Linked DNA regions of Homo sapiens: region 2 is linked to region 1. Evidence: promoter capture Hi-C in human tissues and cell types (Jung and others, 2019). All regions are on one chromosome and are shown on one strand. The core of a region is centred on a gene start or on the middle of the fragment in contact, and the rest is flanking DNA. Distances in the headings are between cores, read along the strand shown.

What was found. Contacts are between HindIII fragments. The study calls those that stand out against the background at their distance.
Region 2: a fragment that was not itself captured here is called in contact with the fragment with the promoter of CACNA1I in region 1 in 3 of the 25 tissues and cell types used here (IMR-90 fibroblasts, lymphoblastoid cells and spleen).

The regions. Positions count from the first base shown.
Region 1 is chr22:39,568,479-39,572,688 of GRCh38, reverse strand. CACNA1I (calcium voltage-gated channel subunit alpha1 I) reads right to left here and starts at 1,936. Exons shown (of 37, transcript NM_021096.4): 1 at 1,701-1,936. The coding sequence starts at 1,936. The HindIII fragment of the contact is 10,754 bases long and covers 1-4,210 here.
Region 2 is chr22:39,916,197-39,920,406 of GRCh38, reverse strand. The region is part of intron 1 of GRAP2 (GRB2 related adaptor protein 2); the gene reads right to left. Among named protein-coding and RNA genes, the nearest start is that of GRAP2, 17 kb to the right of the region's middle. The HindIII fragment of the contact is 5,666 bases long and covers 1-4,210 here.

The sequences.
Region 1 (4,210 bases), core at 687-3,186:
CTCAGTGTCCCAGGGCAGATGTCAGTGAGTGCTGGGTGAACTAATTACCGAGCAGACCCTCTCACCAAGCCTGAGACGCTGTGAGCCGTCCCCCAGAAGGAGCAGGGAGGCTCTTAGCCCCCACCCAGCAAGGAACACCCAGTTCTGCATCCCACTCCAGCAGAGACCCGCTGGTTTCCAAAAGTTAGGGGGATCCAGGGCCCACGATCACCTCAGCCCCCTACAGAAGGGAAGCCTGGCAGTCCTGCAGCCAGTCTCAACATCCCAGCCTGCATCTGGCATCCCTGGATTCCAGGGCAGGACTCAGGCCTGCACCTGACCCACCAGCTCCCCGCACCCTGCCCTGTGTGGCCACAAGCACCAGAACCTCGAGCCACATATGGGCATTTTTTGGTGGGACCCTCAAACCACAAGGCCACCATGGCTTGGGTCCCCAAGCCTCCTCCTCAGTGGTCCCCAGCCCCCACTTCACCCTGCAAGCCAGTGCCACACAGTCCTTCCAGAGCACAGATCTCTCCAGACCCTGCTTCAAATCCTGCCCTTGGAGCACAGTCCCATCCCTCATGCAGCCTCCAAGGCCCTGCAGGGCTCCCGCCACACCTGCAGCCTCACCTCACTCCTCTCTGCCCCTCAGGGCTCCAACACTGCCTGCAACTCCTCCCTTCTCCAGGCTTCGCTCCTGCCATGCCCTCCTCCTGCCTCCCACTACCCTCTCTACCCAACCAACGCTCTTCCTTATTGAGGAGTCAGCTCTGGCATTGCCCATGTACACCCAGCAAACACTGCCAGAGCACCCACGATGTGCCAAGCACTGTGCCAGGTGCTAGGGTCCCCATCCCAGTCATCTGACAGTACCCCAGGGGAGGCAAATGTTAGATTCAGAATTCCACAGTTAGATGTGACAGTTAGATATGAAGCAGAGGAGGAATCCCAGAGGGCTTCCCTGAGGAGGTGATGCTTAAGCTGGGATTTTAAGGATGTAGCAAAGGATTTGGCCAGGTCCAGGGGGAAGGGAAAAGCTTTTCAGACAGGGGGAAGAGCCAGTGAGAGGACCCTGAGGCTCAGAAGAGCACAGGGGGGAAGCCAAGTGGTGGGAAGTGAGGCTGGGTGGAACACACAGGCCCTGATGGGTTGGATTAGGACTTTGCTCTGCACCTCCAGGACCATAGCAAATCATGACAGTCTTAAGCAGGGGGAACATGAGCCCACTGGAGGCAGCAAGTGGAGGCAGGAGGCCTGGGAAGAGGCTGCTCGGAGGCACAGTAAGGAGAATGAGTCCTGCCCTGTGTGTTGGGATCGGCTGCCCCGCTGCCCACGCCCACAGTTCCTGATCACGGCTCCCATCCTCTGTATGGTCACGGCCCATCAGGTGGCTCCAGAGTCTGACTGATCTGCATTCCCAGCCCAGCACAGGTCTGGGGCCCACACTCAAGGACTTTCTGAGCCAGCCAGCCACTGGACTGACCCCACAGCCACCAGCAACTTCCAGAACCTTCACATCAGCAGAACACCAGGTCCTCATCCATTTGAGGTCTCCCCAGACCCACCCTCTGAGCTCGCTCACCACCACCAAGGCCCAGTGGCCTCACCGCAGACCTCAGGTCTCCCAGCCGGAGCAAGGTGTGAGCAGCAGGACTCAATCCAGCCCCCCACCCTTCAGCCCCTGCAGGGCCCCGATCAGCCGAGGCTGCGGAGGATATGGGTTGCACACCATCTTGATGCACCAGTTCCGGGGGCTGGTGGTCTGTCGCAGGCAGAAGAAGGCAATAGGCGCCAGGTCTGGGTGTGGGACATGAGGATCAGCTCCATCCAGAGGCTCCTCCAGGCCTGGCGGGGAGGATGGGGGGCTCCGGGGTCCGGGCTGCTCCGTGGTGACTCCTGGCTCAGCGGCTGGGGCTGCTGCAGATGAGGAGGGCGGGGAGGCGCTCTCAGCCATGTCCACACTGAGCTGGGAGCCCTGGGGAAGACAGAGAGGGTGGCACGTGGTGGGGACAGGCCTGGTACATGCTCCCCAACCTGCCTCTCCACCAATAAGTGGACGGATGCAGCTCTGACAGCCCCACCTGAGCCCCACAGGCCCCTCACCCTCACTCTTGCATGAGGATTACGAAACAGCTGAGGGCCCAGCTGCACCCAACTTGGAATCTGCTTCCAAGCTGGGTGATCATGGGGCAAGTCTGCTCACCCTGGCTGAGCCTCAGTTTTGGCAAACGAAGATAGTGGGGAGAATAAAGCCTTCTTAGAATATAATTGTGATATTAACTCTTTTTTTTTTGTCTATTGGCAATTTTCTGTATTTGAAATCTTTCATTATTTAAGAGAAAAAATGTTTAAGTAATTATAGACAGAAAAGAAAGACGGAAGGGAGGGAGAGAGGGAGAGAGGGAGGGAGGGAGGGAAGAAAGGAAGGAAGGAAGGAAGGAAGGAAGGAAGGAAGGAAGGGATCTTAACTTTTTTACAAGACTAGAGCTATGTATTTATTGCACCATCAAAGGTAAAGAAAACTTGCAAGAAAAAAGAGGTGATTGTAAAGACAGACATTATTGCCAGGACAATGCAGGTTACAAAGGCAATGTTGGGGTGCTGCAGAATCAGAGACTGGGGGAACGCTGGCAAGCCAGGAGGGAATCACAGTTGGCTTCCCTGAGGAAGTAACCCCTGAGCTGAGACCTACAGCTGAGCCCTTGACCCAGGGACCTCCCAGCCACTGCCTTACAAGGCTGAGAACCCAGGAATCTTAGAGTCTAACCTCCTTGCCTTACAGATGAAGAAACCGAGGCCCAGAGAAGGGACAGGACAGACATGTAGCAGAGTAACAGCAGAAATAGAATTCCAGTCAAAGGCCAGGCACGTGACTCACACCTGTAATCCCAGCACTTTGGGAGGCCAAGGTGGGTGGATCACCTGAGGTCAGGAGTTTGAGGCCAACCTGGCCAACATAGTGAGACCTCATCTGTACTAAAAATACAAAAATTAGCTGGGTGTGGTGGCACACGCTGTAATCTCAGCTACTCGGGAAGCTGAGGCATGAGAATCACTTGAACCCGGGAGGTGGAGGTTGCAGTGAGCCAAGATCACACCACTGCATTCCAGCCTGGGCAACAGAGCAAGACTCTGTCACCAAAAAAAAAAAAAAAAAAGAATTCCGGTCAGAGCCCGCTTCCTGGGTCTGTGGCTCAGGCAGCTGCACAGGGCCCCGTGCTCAGAAGGGCCCTGAACTTGCTTTAGAATTCTTCTGTCACCAACATGAAATTCTTAATTGCTTATCAAGAGGTCCCACATTTTCATTTTGTTCTAGGTGATGCAAATCATCTTGCTGGCTCCGACTCCAACTCAAAGCACTTCTACTCCCTGGCCTTGTCTGATGCTCACAACAACCTCAGGAGGACTATTATGCCCATTTGGCAGGTGAAGAAACTGAGGCCAAGAGAACAAAGCGGGTTGTCAAGGCTATGCACCCAGCCAAGTGAAGCACTAGGTGGTGTTGAGAGGCCAGAATCCCAGCACCAGACCCCCAGGCGGGCTTCATGACAACTGATGGTGCCCTCGCTGGCCGAGAGCCTCCGCAACCAGTCAATGGCAAGATGGGACGGACAGCCACTCCCAGGGCCTGCCCCTCACCACCTCACCCCAAAGGGTACTAGTCCCTAAAACTTTGTCCACTGGGGTCCCTGGGATCCTAGAACCCCTACAGGGCCAGTCTGAGCCGTGGGATTGAGAGATGGGGTCCACGTCCCTGGTGCCCACCCAGCTGCTGCTGGGCTGTCGACCAAGCCACCCGGAGCTGATGCATTTGGACATTTCTCTGGCTCCCGGGGGCAACGGGCAGGGGTTGGCACCTCCTGCCACTTCCCCTGGCTGGTCAGGGAGGCGGAGTTTTCTCCTGAGCTCAGGGCTTTGCTCTTGATTCCAGAAAAACAGCCACGGGCCTTACATAAGCTCCCAGGCACCTTGGCCTGCCACGTGTCAACCTCCTGGGCTGAAACGCACCCTCCCTAGGGTGGTTCCAGCTCTGCCCACCACCGTGCCAGCCTCGGAGCCCACCACTCCCTCCCCTGGCCATTTGCTCTGGCCAGATTGGACCTCCTCAGGTCCTAGGCCCTGCTCCCGCTCTTCCCTCTCACTGGGGCACCTTCTCCTTCCGCCCAGGCCCTGTTCTCCCAGGCCCTACTGATTCATTCATTTGCCCAATGAGCACCTACTATGTGTG
Region 2 (4,210 bases), core at 1,069-3,568, 350 kb before region 1:
TGATTGAGGTGATGTCTGTTGATTTTCTTTGAATTTAGATGTGTTATCAGTTCACACATTGGGCATAACGGGAAGAAGATGAGTGAACATTTTCTTGATAGTGCCTGACATTCAGCAGGGTTGTGATAAGATGTGGGGTAAGATATGACTCTGCAAGAATATGCTGGACAGTGTGTGTCCCCTAGCGTGTACCAAAGGAGCGGAGGCAGATGGACCCTCTTGGGAGAAAACAGTGTGACAAGCCCACTCTTTGTTCTCTGACAGACACAAGTTGGCCTGGGTGGATATTTACTATCTTAGGGCAAGGGGAAGAACTGCTAATTTGTCACACATTGTGTTCATGGTCTGGGAAAAGCACTTGCTTTTTTGACATTGGGTCCTCCACTACAACCAGATAGATTCTGAATGCTGTGGTTAAGAGTTAGGGTTTTAGGAGTTCGTATAATCTCTCTGGCCTCAGTTTCCTCATCTTTAAGATGGAAACAACAATGGCACTTATCCCCTTAGATAGGAATAAATAGACTAATACATATCAGGCACTTAAAACAATATATATCCAGCATTAAACTTGTATTTACATGAATGCATGCATCCTTATTTACACAACTTCATATTTATGGGAGGACTTACTCCAATGCTTGCTCAAGATAGATGCTTAGTAAATATTTGTCAAATATTGAAGGAGATAGAAGAATGGATTTAGTGGGGTACTTCTATGGCTATCTGTTCTGACTTCTCAGTAACCTGTAATTCAAGGATAGACAGGTAAAACTGGGTGTTAGATTTAATCTCTATTGAGCAATATTTCAAAAAAGGGGAGTTTTCTGCAATCATACATCTCTGAAGAATAGATGGAAATGGAGATGATGAGTTTGCATGAAGATTGTGAAGGAAATGGCATGAAGAATTGACTTGTCACATGTGAAGGACAGGCAGCAAGGACAATGACTCTAAATAAAATAAAAAACAGGGTCTAATATAATTAGAAACCTTAAAACTGCAAAATATAAGTTATTTGTGAATCTACAAAAATAAATACATACAAAAAACAGGAGTCAAATCTCTGACCTGTATTTACCTTCTCTTGGTTGTTGTAATAATGATAGCTTAGAAATAGAAGTAAAATGAAAAGTATAATGTTTAGGAGCTGGTACAGTATGACAAGAATACCTTAATATTAGATTAAATTATATAAAATCACCACTTTTGGGGTAAAAAATAGGGTCAGCTATTGTCAATATCTTCTATTTATTTTTATTTTTATTTCTTTAGAGACAGGGTCACACTGTGGCCCAGGCTGGAGTGCCGTGGTACAACCCTGGCTCACTGTAGCCTTGAACTCCTGGCCTCAAGTGATTATCCTGGGCCCCAAAAGTGCTGGGATTACAGGCATGAGTCACGGCAGCCAGCCCCCAGATATTGTCAATTTCATATGATTTGATGTAGTATATTTCAGCTAATTGTAGCTAAATCAAAATACTCACAGTGTCTTGCCTTTATTGCCTTTTAACTATGGCCATAAAAATAAATTGGACAATTTTATTTGTCTTAACCTCTTTTACCTCTCAGACTTTGTGCATAGTAGGTACTAAACAACGTTTTGTTAATTGAGTGGTGTTTTTGGTTATCTTCTCTCAAAAGGCAGGACAAAAATTTGCCACACTATCAAATGCTGAGACTGCCCTTAAAATATAATTACCAAAGTGTTCGCTTCACTTCAGTTTTCATGATTTAGATAAATCCTTTTTGTTCCTTGTTTGGGCAGCACTGGGAAGCTAATTAATACATTATTAATATATTGTAGAGGCAAACAAGACTCTGCTTGCTCACACAGCTATGACAATAATAAATTCAGGTCAGAAATATTTTTTCAATTAAGGGAAAATGTTATTATAATGAGAAGTTATTTTTAAACAACAAGACACAACTCAGTGTCGAAACACGGCAGAGACTTACAAATGAGGTGAATGGCAGAGTCAGGCAAGCCCTCTCCTGATGGTTCCAATCATTTAGGGCCCAATATGGACGTCTAAAGTGCCCTGCAATGAACTCGAAATGATAACCTTTTGGGATCCCAGCAATGAAGAACTTCGTTATTATTCGTCTGCGATTTCATAACAGTTGGGATTGGTGCCAAACTTAGGAGCCAGTACTGAAATAGCTGAGCAGGAGGCATGAAATGGTTTTCAATTCAGAAAATAAAGAGCTCCCTCCCCAGTAGAAGAGATGCGGGAATGTTCAGGGAGGAGCGTGAAAAACCCGTGAGTTATAGTACCTCTTTGGGCCTCAGTTTTTCCACACTTTGTTAACTACCTCTTACAGAATATTCATTCTCTGTAACATCTGTTGTTGCAAGGAAAAATCAGATAATGCCTAAAAATGCTATGCATTTCTTGAGGGGGGAAAAAGCTAGAGCCAGAAAATGTATTATTTTGGTTTTGGTTGACCCAGAGATGTGACAGCAGCCACATTACATAAGAAGAGTTCTAAGAAAGCAGAGTTGTCTTCATTTTTTAAACAGAAGAACCACAATCTCCTTTCTGTTTGGATCCTTATACGAATCAAATATGTGAGCAAGAAAGGGCCTACGAAATCACCAATTTTAACTTTCCCCCTAATGCCATTAATTTTTCTTAGAGATATTTTGAGCATGGAGCATGCACAATTCTGCTCAATTTTTGCCATCTAATGAGATCCCAGCCCCAGGTGCTGTGCTTCTACAATAATGTCTCAATGCTAATTACATTTTAGAACAGTTAGGGCAAGAATAGTTCCAAACATACTTGAAGTAATAACTAGTCATATATCCAGAAGGTCAACAGTTCAATCAAAGAGAGAAAAAAATTAGCATATCTTAAGAAAGAATACAAGTGGTTTTGTACAAGAGCTCTCATTTAAGTCTACAAGTGCACTTAAAATACTGATACAGCTAGGTAATTCTATATTTGCCTTTTTAACTCAGTGAAAGCTCCCAATTTCAGGGTGCAGTGTCTGAGAACGAGAAGCATCTGGCAGGTGAAGGGGAGAGGCGTGTTGTTAGTGAAATTGGCTGGAATTTCAGGTTAGGGGTTTGTGCCAGGACTGTGCTGCATGGAGTTGTAGAGAGGGGGGCTTTGGGCTGCTGATGAAGGAAGAGAAACGATGTTAGAGAGCTTTGCACTGGGCCAGGGCTCTGCGCCAATCCTCTGTTACAGTAACAACACAGCGCTAATCCATGAGCACAGTAAATCCCTCAAATAATTGTGTATCAAATCACTACCAACAAAATTACACTCTGCTGTCATCAATGCAGTTTCCATAAAAATGTCTGATCTTTCCCCCAACTTCTCAGTTTCAAAAATGATTTCTAATGAATACCAAAGAGAAGCAATTGGAAGCTCCACCCATTGCTTTCTATTCTACATGACTGAAGTTACCTTTAGTTTAGAAGTGCATCACATTTTAATTAAAAGATAATAATAATTATTGAGTACTTATTATGTACTTGGCAATAGTTACATGGCTAATAGTGTTAAAGAAGATTCCGAAAAAAAAAATCACCTGCCAAAACCATCAAATAAATCATTTCTGCTCCACTAAAGGTAAAGTATTAAAATAATAAAACAGCTCAAGGATTTGTTTTTAATGTGCTAAAAAAGTGGTACTTTTCTTTCTCCAAGAGCCCCGCACTCTGCACAAGAAGTTCCTTTCAGTAAGGGTGCAATGTGACCTGGCATTGTGTGAAACACAGTCTAAGAACTCGTGATTTCATGGGGGAACTAAGCTGGGAATCTAAGAATGACTTTTATAATTTGAACTATAGGAAAACCTTTAGGAAGAAAATCAAGTTATAATGAAACTTATTCAACTCACTAACTTTTAAATAGGATGGGATCTTTTTACATTCAATTTAAAATATAAAACACTTTAAATGTACAGAAAAGTAAAGAGAATAATAATAACCAACTCATCACTGAGGCTTTTTATGAGTCTAATAGACCCTGTTCCATTTCAGAGGGGTCCTACAGTTGCTCAGGTAGGAATTTTTCCAAATTGAAGACCAACCTCTGGGGACAAAGCCTTTTTGCAGGATGTTTTGGGTCCGTGGAATTCTCTCCTTGATCCTCTGCCATCCTAATTGAGCTGTTCCTTCCATTCACTTCCGTTCACGGAGGTGATGAAGTGCTGTTGGGGGAGGGGGCTGTGGCAGATGCCAGGACCACCGCTGCCT